3 separate regions of the Homo sapiens genome follow, and all the other regions are linked to region 1. The links are contacts of gene promoters, found by promoter capture Hi-C in blood cells and fetal thymus (Javierre and others, 2016). All regions are on one chromosome and are shown on one strand. The core of a region is centred on a gene start or on the middle of the fragment in contact, and the rest is flanking DNA. Distances in the headings are between cores, read along the strand shown. Region 1 holds the start of LINC00852 (long intergenic non-protein coding RNA 852). Region 2 overlaps FANCD2 (FA complementation group D2). Region 3 holds the start of VHL (von Hippel-Lindau tumor suppressor).

What was found. Contacts are between HindIII fragments. The CHiCAGO score rates a contact against its expected background, and 5 or more counts as called.
Region 2: a fragment that was not itself captured here is called in contact with the fragment with the promoter of LINC00852 in region 1 in 3 of 17 cell types (activated CD4 T cells, megakaryocytes and naive CD8 T cells); the score reaches 6.2 in activated CD4 T cells.
Region 3: the fragment with the promoter of VHL here is called in contact with the fragment with the promoter of LINC00852 in region 1 in 4 of 17 cell types (activated CD4 T cells, non-activated CD4 T cells, naive CD4 T cells and 1 more); the score reaches 9.1 in activated CD4 T cells.

Annotation. Positions count from the first base shown.
Region 1 is chr3:10,282,902-10,285,822 of GRCh38, forward strand. LINC00852 (long intergenic non-protein coding RNA 852) reads left to right here and starts at 1,518. Exons shown (of 1, transcript NR_026829.1): 1 at 1,518-2,845. It overlaps GHRL (ghrelin and obestatin prepropeptide), which reads right to left. Exons shown (of 6, transcript NM_016362.5): 6 at 2,765-2,921. GHRLOS (ghrelin opposite strand/antisense RNA) reads left to right here. Exons shown (of 6, transcript NR_073568.1): 2 at 620-702; 3 at 2,847-2,921. The HindIII fragment of the contact is 4,911 bases long and covers 1-2,921 here.
Region 2 is chr3:10,069,226-10,072,146 of GRCh38, forward strand. All of the region lies in intron 26 of FANCD2 (FA complementation group D2), which reads left to right. Among named protein-coding and RNA genes, the nearest start is that of FANCD2OS, 38 kb to the right of the region's middle. RefSeq lists an enhancer at 998-1,962. The HindIII fragment of the contact is 4,595 bases long and covers 1-2,921 here.
Region 3 is chr3:10,140,107-10,143,027 of GRCh38, forward strand. It overlaps VHL (von Hippel-Lindau tumor suppressor), which reads left to right and starts at 1,672. Exons shown (of 3, transcript NM_000551.4): 1 at 1,672-2,081. The coding sequence starts at 1,742. It also overlaps the pseudogene LOC124906359. RefSeq lists an enhancer at 2,589-2,921. The HindIII fragment of the contact is 16,438 bases long and covers 1-2,921 here.

The sequences.
Region 1 (2,921 bases), core at 268-2,767:
AGTAGCTGGGACTACAGGCGCCCAATACCATGACTGGCTAATTTTTTTTTTTTTAAATTTTAAGTAGAGATGAGATTTTGCCATGTTGGCCTGTTTGGCCTTATACTCCTCATCTCAGGTGATCCACCTGCCTCGGCCCCCCAAATGCCAGTGACATTTGTAGGTGGATTCAGATTAAGGTGGGTAGCTTAGTTGAGGCGTCTCAACCCTTTTCTGTGCACTCTCTCAAGATGATTTCTGAACACACAACTATAAGTGCATGAGAACTTAAATACGTGTGCTCTTATGCTAATTATACACAAAGTAAAAGTTTTTTCACAAGGAGAATTTTTTTCTCCAGCAAATAGCTCGCTCACCCTAGGGGTACATACACCCCACTTTAGAGACCCTCAAGTTACAGTGGTATCATTAAACGATCCATAAAGGAGTGGGTTTAAGAAAGCTGATACAGGAACATGTTTGAAATAATACATTTTCTCAAGGGTGTCCTCCAACCATTTTCTTTGATAAATTATATTTCTGCCCATTGTTGACTTGAAATTGTCCTCACCCCTCTACCAAGTTCACCCAGTGTATTCTGAAGGAAAATGAATGAATATGGAAACCTCTCTCATCCTAGGCAGTAGAGCGAGGGAAGCTGCACTGGCTGAGAGGCTGTGGAACCGGATGAAAAAGCAGCCCCTGAGTCCTGTGGCGTTGGCTGTGAGTCGGCCACGTGCTTGCTGTGTGCTTTAGGAAAGTTACTTAATTTCTCTGAGCTTTAGTTTTCTCCCTCATAAGTAGGCTTGCTGTGAAAATGAAGTGAAATCACATTAATCTGCATGAGCATTTAACACGGTGCCTGGTGTACATCAGGGGTGTGACAGTGAGTGCTGGCTGCTGTAGTAATTGAATGCTTAGCTACGTGCCGGGCCCTTTGCCAGCTACAGCTCATGTGAGACCTCATGTTCAGTCTTGGCAGTAACCCAGCAAGGTAGGCATTTTACATGTGAGGAGCCTGAGAAATTCAGTCTTGGCCTGGATCACAGAGCTGGTATCCAAATTCAGGTCCGAGGCCAAAGCCCAGATCTTTGCACTACACCTTGTTGCCTGGCACAGGTGAGAGTGCCCAGCCCATAGTGGGTGCGCAATATCTGTTTCTATTTGAATGACCCAGGCAGGCGGTTAATAATGCTTGTGATTTCTTTGAGAGAGAAGTAAGTTCTTGTCTTTGGTGGGGGAAGCATCAGGTGACCAGCATTTGTCCAGAGCCTGGTACCCATCCTCTCCCAAGCCCAATCAGTGGTGCTTTCTCAAAAAGAAACCATCTCCTGACCACTTTGGCCATATTGGGCCTTTGCTCCTCTTCTGTAGCTATTGATAAGAGGGCTGTGGGCAGTTAGTGATAATCAAGGTCGTATCCCAACTAAGTGACAGAGCTGAGACAGTTAAGTTCCAGGACAAGTGTGTTGATCTCTGTACCCACTTGTGCCAGGTGCCTGGGGAGGTAGGGGCATGGCTGTCTGAGGGTGGAGGGGTGAGTAGGGGGCCTGCAGTGTGCTGTGACGCCTGGGAAGGGGATTCTAAGCCATTTCCCATCAGCCGTTTACTAAGTAGCCTGGGGATCTTGTTAAAATGCAGATCCTGATAGATTAGGGCTGGGGTGCTGCCCAAGATTCTACATTTCTAAGAGTCCCTGGATGACGGTGGCATTCACAGACCACAGCTTCTATGTGAGGGAGAGCAGTTGGGTTTCTGTCTGCCTGCCGCACCTGATCAGTAGTTAGTGCCTGCATGTGTGGCGGCCAGAATTTTACTTGGGGAGACGCTCGGCTCCTAGCACCCTCTGTGGTAGGGGTTTTCCAGAGTGTGGGCATTACCCCAACTGTCTCTGCAGACGGCTTCCTGCATGTTTCCCACAAGCGCTCAGATGGCTGAATTGGCAAGTCTGTGGTGCTGCTCTTTGGGGCCACCTCGTTCTTTGCCTTTCCCTCCCCTTAGCGATGTGTCCCATCCGTTGCCTACAGTCAAGTCAGTCCACATGTTTAGGCTAAGGTGGGCATGACCGAGTGGCCTTCCCCCGGGAAGACCAGTGTCGTAACTGGAATTAAGTTGTGGAACATAAGAGTCAAGGCTCGTGTCTGCTGTGAACTGGAGTTGAGGGAATGTTTGGGGATCCCACCTGGTATCAGTAAGGGAACCATGGCGACGGCCAGCCTTGCCCATGTGAGGCATTTGCTTTGTCAGGCCTTCTCAGTAGTGGAGAAGGGAGGAAGGAGAATGCAGCTCTTTCAGTGCTGTCTAGCAGTGCCCAAGAGCCGTGATTGGGCACCTCACTTAACGTCTAACTTCAGATTCACTCTTGGGCATTCCTGTCTTCCTCTCCAATCTTGAATGGATGTTGGCTTCGATAATGTCATCCTGAAGTTTCTTTGTCCACACAGCCCTGGCTGGTTGTTAATAAGCTGTTAATGCAGCCTTGCACTCAGGAAGCCCTGATGTTTAAAGGAACTGTGTCTTTGTTCTTCCTCTCTTCCCTCTTTCTCTTAGTCCCACTTTATCTCTTCTTTCTCTTCCTCTCCCTCCTCCTTTTCCCCTCTCCCTCCTACTCTCCCCCTTTCTCTCCTCCTTCTCTAAGAAACCCAGTCTTAATTCCACACAATGCATGCACATGCAGTAGCTTCTCTGCTTGAGTGAGCTGGTGTGATTAGGTTTTCTAAACATGCACATTGGCCTTGCTACTTGTCCTTTTATTCCCTTCCCACAGACCATAAACCAAGAATTATTTTTATTTGTATTATTTTGATTTTTTTAAAGTAAAATATTAACTTTTCCTCTTTGAAATAAATTCCCATTTGGAACATCAGCATACAGTTTGAACATTTATTCGCCTCCTGAGCTTGTACAACAGTCGTGGGAGTTGCTGCAGAAGCAAGCGAAAA
Region 2 (2,921 bases), core at 249-2,748, 210 kb before region 1:
GAATGCGAGAAAATATTTGCAAACTATGTATCTGACAAGGGACTAATAACTGGAATATATAAAGATAGGAAAAAAAATTATTCGGATTGAAAAATGGGTAAAAGGTCTGAATAGACATTTCTCAAAAGAAGACATACAAATAGTGGATATGTGAAAAGGTGCTCAACATCACTGAGCCTCAGAGAAATGCAAATCAAAACTGCCATGTGATGTCATCTCACCCTAGTTAAGATGCCTCTCCCCCTCCCCCTCCCCCTCCCCCTCTCCCGTCTCCCTCTGATGCCGAGCCAAAGCTGGACTGTACTGCTGCCATCTCGGCTCACTGCAACCTCCCTGCCTGATTCTCCTGCCTCAGCCTGCCGAGTGCCTGCGATTGCAGGCGCGCGCCGCCACGCCTGACTGGTTTTCGTACTTTTTTGGTGGAGACGGGGTTTCGCTGTGTTGGCCGGGCCGGTCTCCAGCTCCTAACCGCGAGTGATCCGCTAGCCTCAGCCTCCCGAGGTGCCGGGATTGCAGACGGAGTCTGGTTCACTCAGTGCTCAATGGTGCCCAGGCTGGAGTGCAGTAGCGTGATCTCGGCTCGCTACAACCTCCACCTCCCAGCCACCTGCCTTGGCCTCCCAAAGTGCCGAGATTGCAGCCTCTGCCCGGCCGCCACCCCGTCTGGGAAGTGAGGAGCGTCTCTGCCTGGCCGCCCATCGTCTGGGATGTGAGGAGCCTCTCTGCCAGGCTGCCCAGTCTGGAAAGTGAGGAGCGTCTCTGCCCGGCCGCCATCCCATCTAGGAAGTGAGGAGCGTCTCTGCCCGGCCACCCATCGTCTGAGATGTGGGGAGCGCCTCTGCCCCACCGCCCCGTCTGGGATGTGAGGAGCGCCTCTGCCCGGCCGCGACCCCGTCTGGGAGGTGAGGAGCGTCTCTGCCCGGCTGCCCCGTATGAGAAGTGAGGAGACCCTCCGCCCGGCAACCGCCCCGTCTGAGAAGTGAGGAGCCCCTCTGCCCGGCAGCCGCCCCATCTGAGAAGTGAGGAGTCCCTCCGCCCGGCAGCCACCCTGTCTGGGAAGTGAGGAGCGTCTCCGCCCGGCAGCCACCCCGTCCGGGAGGGAGGTGGGGGTCAGGCCCCGCCAGGCCAGCCGCCCCGTCCGGGAGGGAGGTCAGGGGGTCAGCCCCCCGCCCGGCCAGCTGCCCCGTCCGGGAGGTGAGGGGCGCCTCTGCCCAGCCGCCCCTACTGGGAAGTGAGGAGCTCCTCTGCCGGGCCAGCCTCCCGGTCCGGGAGGGAGGTGGGGGGGGTCAGCCCCCTGTCCGGCCAGCCGCCCCGTCCGGGAGGTGAGGGGCGCCTCTGCCCGGCCGCCCCTACTGGGAAGTGAGGAGCCCCTCTGCCCGGCCACCACCCCGTCTGGGAGGTGTACCCAACAGCTCATTGAGAACAGGCCGGGATGACAATGGCGGTTTTGTGGAATAGAAAGGGGGGAAAGGTGGGGAAAAGATTGAGAAATCGGATGGTTGCCGTGTCTGTGTAGAAAGAAGTAGACATGGGAGACTTTTCATTTTGTTCTGTACTAAGATAAATTCTTCTGCCTTGGGATCCTGTTGATCGGTGACCTTACCCCCAACCCTGTGCTCTCTGAAACATGTGCTGTGTCCACTCAGGGTTAAATGGATTAAGGGCGGTGCAAGATGTGCTTTGTTAAACAGATGCTTGAAGGCAGCATGCTTGTTAAGAATCATCACCACTCCCTAATCTCAAGTACCCAGGGACACAAACACTGCGGAAGGCCGCAGGGTCCTCTGCCTAGGAAAACCAGAGACCTTTGTTCACTTGTTTATCTGCCGACCTTCCCTCCACTATTGTCCTATGACCCTGCCAAATCCCCCTCTGCGAGAAACACCCAAGAATGATCGATAAAAAAAAAAAAAGAAAAAAAGAAAAAAAAAAAAAGATGGCTTTTATCCAAAGGACAGGCAATAACAGATGCTGGTGAGAATATGGAGAAAAGAGAACCTTTGTACACTGTTGGTGGGAATGTCAATTAGTACAAGCACTATGGAGAACAGTTTGGAGTTTCCTCAAAAAACTAAAAATAGAATCACCATATGATCCAGGAATGCCACTGGTAGGTATATACCCAAAAGAAAGGAAATCAGTATACCAAGGAGATATCTGCACTCCCATGTTTATTGCAGCACTATTCACAATAGTCAAGATTTGGAAGCAACCTAAGTGTCCATCAGCGGGTGAATGGATAAAATGTGGTCCGTATACACAATGGAGTACTATTCAGCCATAAAAAACAATGAGATCCTGTTGTTTGCAACAATACAGATGGAACTGGAGGACATTATGTTAAGTGAAATAGGCCAGGCACAACATATTTTCACATATTTGTGGGAGCTGAAAATTAAAATAATTTAACTCATGGAGATAGAGTAGAAGTATGGTTACCAGAGGCTGGGGAGGGTAATGGTGGTTGGGGGACTGGGAAAAATGAGGGTGGTTAATAGCTTCAAAAATATAATTAGATAGAATGAATAAGATCTAGTTGTTTTTGTATTTTTGAGATGGAGTCTCGCTCTGTCACCCAGGCTGGAGTGCAGTGGCACAGTCTCGGCTTACTGCGACCTCTGCCTCCTGGGTTCAAGCAATTCTCCTGCCTCAGCCTCCTGAGTAGCCGGGACTAGAAGTGTGCACCACCACACCCAGCTAATTTTTGTACTTTTGGTGCAGATGGGGTTTCACCGTGTTGGCCGGGCTTGTCTCGAACTCCTGACCTCAAGTGATCCACCTTCCTCGGCCTCCCAAAGTGCTGGGATTACAGGCATGAGCCAGAGAGCCCAGCCAAGATCTAGTTTTTGATAGCACAACAGGGTGACTACAGTCAACAATAACTTACTGTACATTTAAAAATAACTAAAATAGTATAATTG
Region 3 (2,921 bases), core at 422-2,921, 140 kb before region 1:
CCAGCACTTGGGAAAACCAAGGCAGGCAGATTACCTGAGGTGAGGAGTTCAAGACCAGCCTGGCAAACATGGTGAAACCCCGTCTCTACTAAAAGTACAAAAATTACCTGGGTGTGGTGGCACACACCTGTAATCCCAGCTACTCCAGAGGCTGAGGCACGATAATCACTTGAACTCGGCAGATGGAGGTTGCAGTGAGCTGAGACTGAGCCACTGCACTCCAGCCTGGGTGATAAAGCGAGACTGTCTAAAAAAAAATTATTTTTAACTAATATAAAACTCTCTGAACCCTTCTTTTTCTGAGCTGCTTCTCCACTTGAGTCCATCCCACATCATTGAACATTTAATTACACAGAATTGTGTACCATCTTCCTTGACCCCCAGATCTTTAGCCTTCTATAGTACCCTGTCTCTTTTTGTCGTACTAGTCACAGTTGCACTTTTTTTTTTTTTTTTTTTGAGACAGAGTCTCATTCTGTCACCCAGGCTGCAGTGCAGTAGCACAATCTCAGCTCACTGCAACCTCCGCCTCCCGGGTTCAAGCAATTCTCCTGCCTCAGCCTCCTAAGTAGCTGGGATTACATGCGCGCACCACCACGCCAGGCTAATTTTTGTATTTTTAGTAGAGACGAGGTTTCACCATGTTGTCAGGCTGGTCTAGAACTCCTGACCTTGTGATCAGCCCACTTCAGCCTCCCAAAGTACTGGGATTACAGGCATGAGCCACTGCACCCGGCCATAGTTGCTATTTTATTTGTGTGATTGATTACCGTATGACGCTTTTATTGAAGTGCAGTGAAGGCAGGAAACATGACCGGTTTTTACAATATTTTCAACACTTATCACCATAGGTGGTACATAGTAGGGCCTTAATAAATATTTGTAAAATGAACAAAGTTAATGAGTGTTTATGTTTGTAGTTTTAATTGCTCTGAAGTAAATATCTGATTTTCCAATTTCCACCAGAGTGCTCTGCACATAGTAGGTCTAATTATTTTTCCCTCTTTACTAATCACCCATGCCTTGTAAGAATTCAGTTAGTTGACTTTTTGTACTTTATAAGCGTGATGATTGGGTGTTCCCGTGTGAGATGCGCCACCCTCGAACCTTGTTACGACGTCGGCACATTGCGCGTCTGACATGAAGAAAAAAAAAATTCAGTTAGTCCACCAGGCACAGTGGCTAAGGCCTGTAATCCCTGCACTTTGAGAGGCCAAGGCAGGAGGATCACTTGAACCCAGGAGTTCGAGACCAGCCTAGGCAACATAGCGAGACTCCGTTTCAAACAACAAATAAAAATAATTAGTCGGGCATGGTGGTGCGCGCCTACAGTACCAACTACTCGGGAGGCTGAGGCGAGACGATCGCTTGAGCCAGGGAGGTCAAGGCTGCAGTGAGCCAAGCTCGCGCCACTGCACTCCAGCCCGGGCGACAGAGTGAGACCCTGTCTCAAAAAAAAAAAAAACACCAAACCTTAGAGGGGCGAAAAAAAATTTTATAGTGGAAATACAGTAACGAGTTGGCCTAGCCTCGCCTCCGTTACAACGGCCTACGGTGCTGGAGGATCCTTCTGCGCACGCGCACAGCCTCCGGCCGGCTATTTCCGCGAGCGCGTTCCATCCTCTACCGAGCGCGCGCGAAGACTACGGAGGTCGACTCGGGAGCGCGCACGCAGCTCCGCCCCGCGTCCGACCCGCGGATCCCGCGGCGTCCGGCCCGGGTGGTCTGGATCGCGGAGGGAATGCCCCGGAGGGCGGAGAACTGGGACGAGGCCGAGGTAGGCGCGGAGGAGGCAGGCGTCGAAGAGTACGGCCCTGAAGAAGACGGCGGGGAGGAGTCGGGCGCCGAGGAGTCCGGCCCGGAAGAGTCCGGCCCGGAGGAACTGGGCGCCGAGGAGGAGATGGAGGCCGGGCGGCCGCGGCCCGTGCTGCGCTCGGTGAACTCGCGCGAGCCCTCCCAGGTCATCTTCTGCAATCGCAGTCCGCGCGTCGTGCTGCCCGTATGGCTCAACTTCGACGGCGAGCCGCAGCCCTACCCAACGCTGCCGCCTGGCACGGGCCGCCGCATCCACAGCTACCGAGGTACGGGCCCGGCGCTTAGGCCCGACCCAGCAGGGACGATAGCACGGTCTGAAGCCCCTCTACCGCCCCGGGGTCCATTTTGCAGACGGGGAACTGAGGCCCCTTGAGGCAGGACACATCCAGGGTGACGCTGCTCGTAAGCGTCAGAGCATTCTTTTTTTTTTTTTTTTTTTTCTGAGACGGAGTCTCGCTCTGTCGCCCAGGCTGGAGTGCAGTGGCGCGATCTCGACTCACTGCAGCCTCCGCCTCCCGGGTTCAAGCGATTCTCCTGCCTCAGCCTCCTGAGTAGCTGGGATTACAGGCGTGCGCCACCGCGCCCGGCTGATTTTTATATTTTTAGTAGAGACGGGGTTTCACCATGTTGGTCAGGCTGGTCTCGAACTGCTGACCTCGTGATCCGCCCGCCTCGGCCTCCCAAAGTGCTGGGCTTATGGGCATGAGCCTCCGCGCCCGGCCCAGAGCATTCTTTATAAGGCCGAATAGTTTGCATTTGAAGGTGGCTCCCCCCAGTCCCCCACCCCACGTGTATTTTCCCCTCAAAGAAAAGCTGCATCCTTAACACCCCATCTGTTCAGTCCTCATGACTCCAGTGGGCCAGTTCTGCGTAGTCCCTGCCCTCGTGGAGAACACATTCCTCCTGGGGAGACTGACAGATGCAAAGACAGGAACAAGCCAGGGTCATGTTGGCGCCGGAAGAGCCGACCGTGTGTGGCGTGGGAAATTGACTTACCTGCCTGCTGGGAGATGGAGGGGTTGCGGTTGTGTGGTTTCAGTTAAGGAGCACTTCCCGGAGAAGGAAGAGAGCAGGATGGAGTAGGAACTAGCCAACCCTAGGTAAGA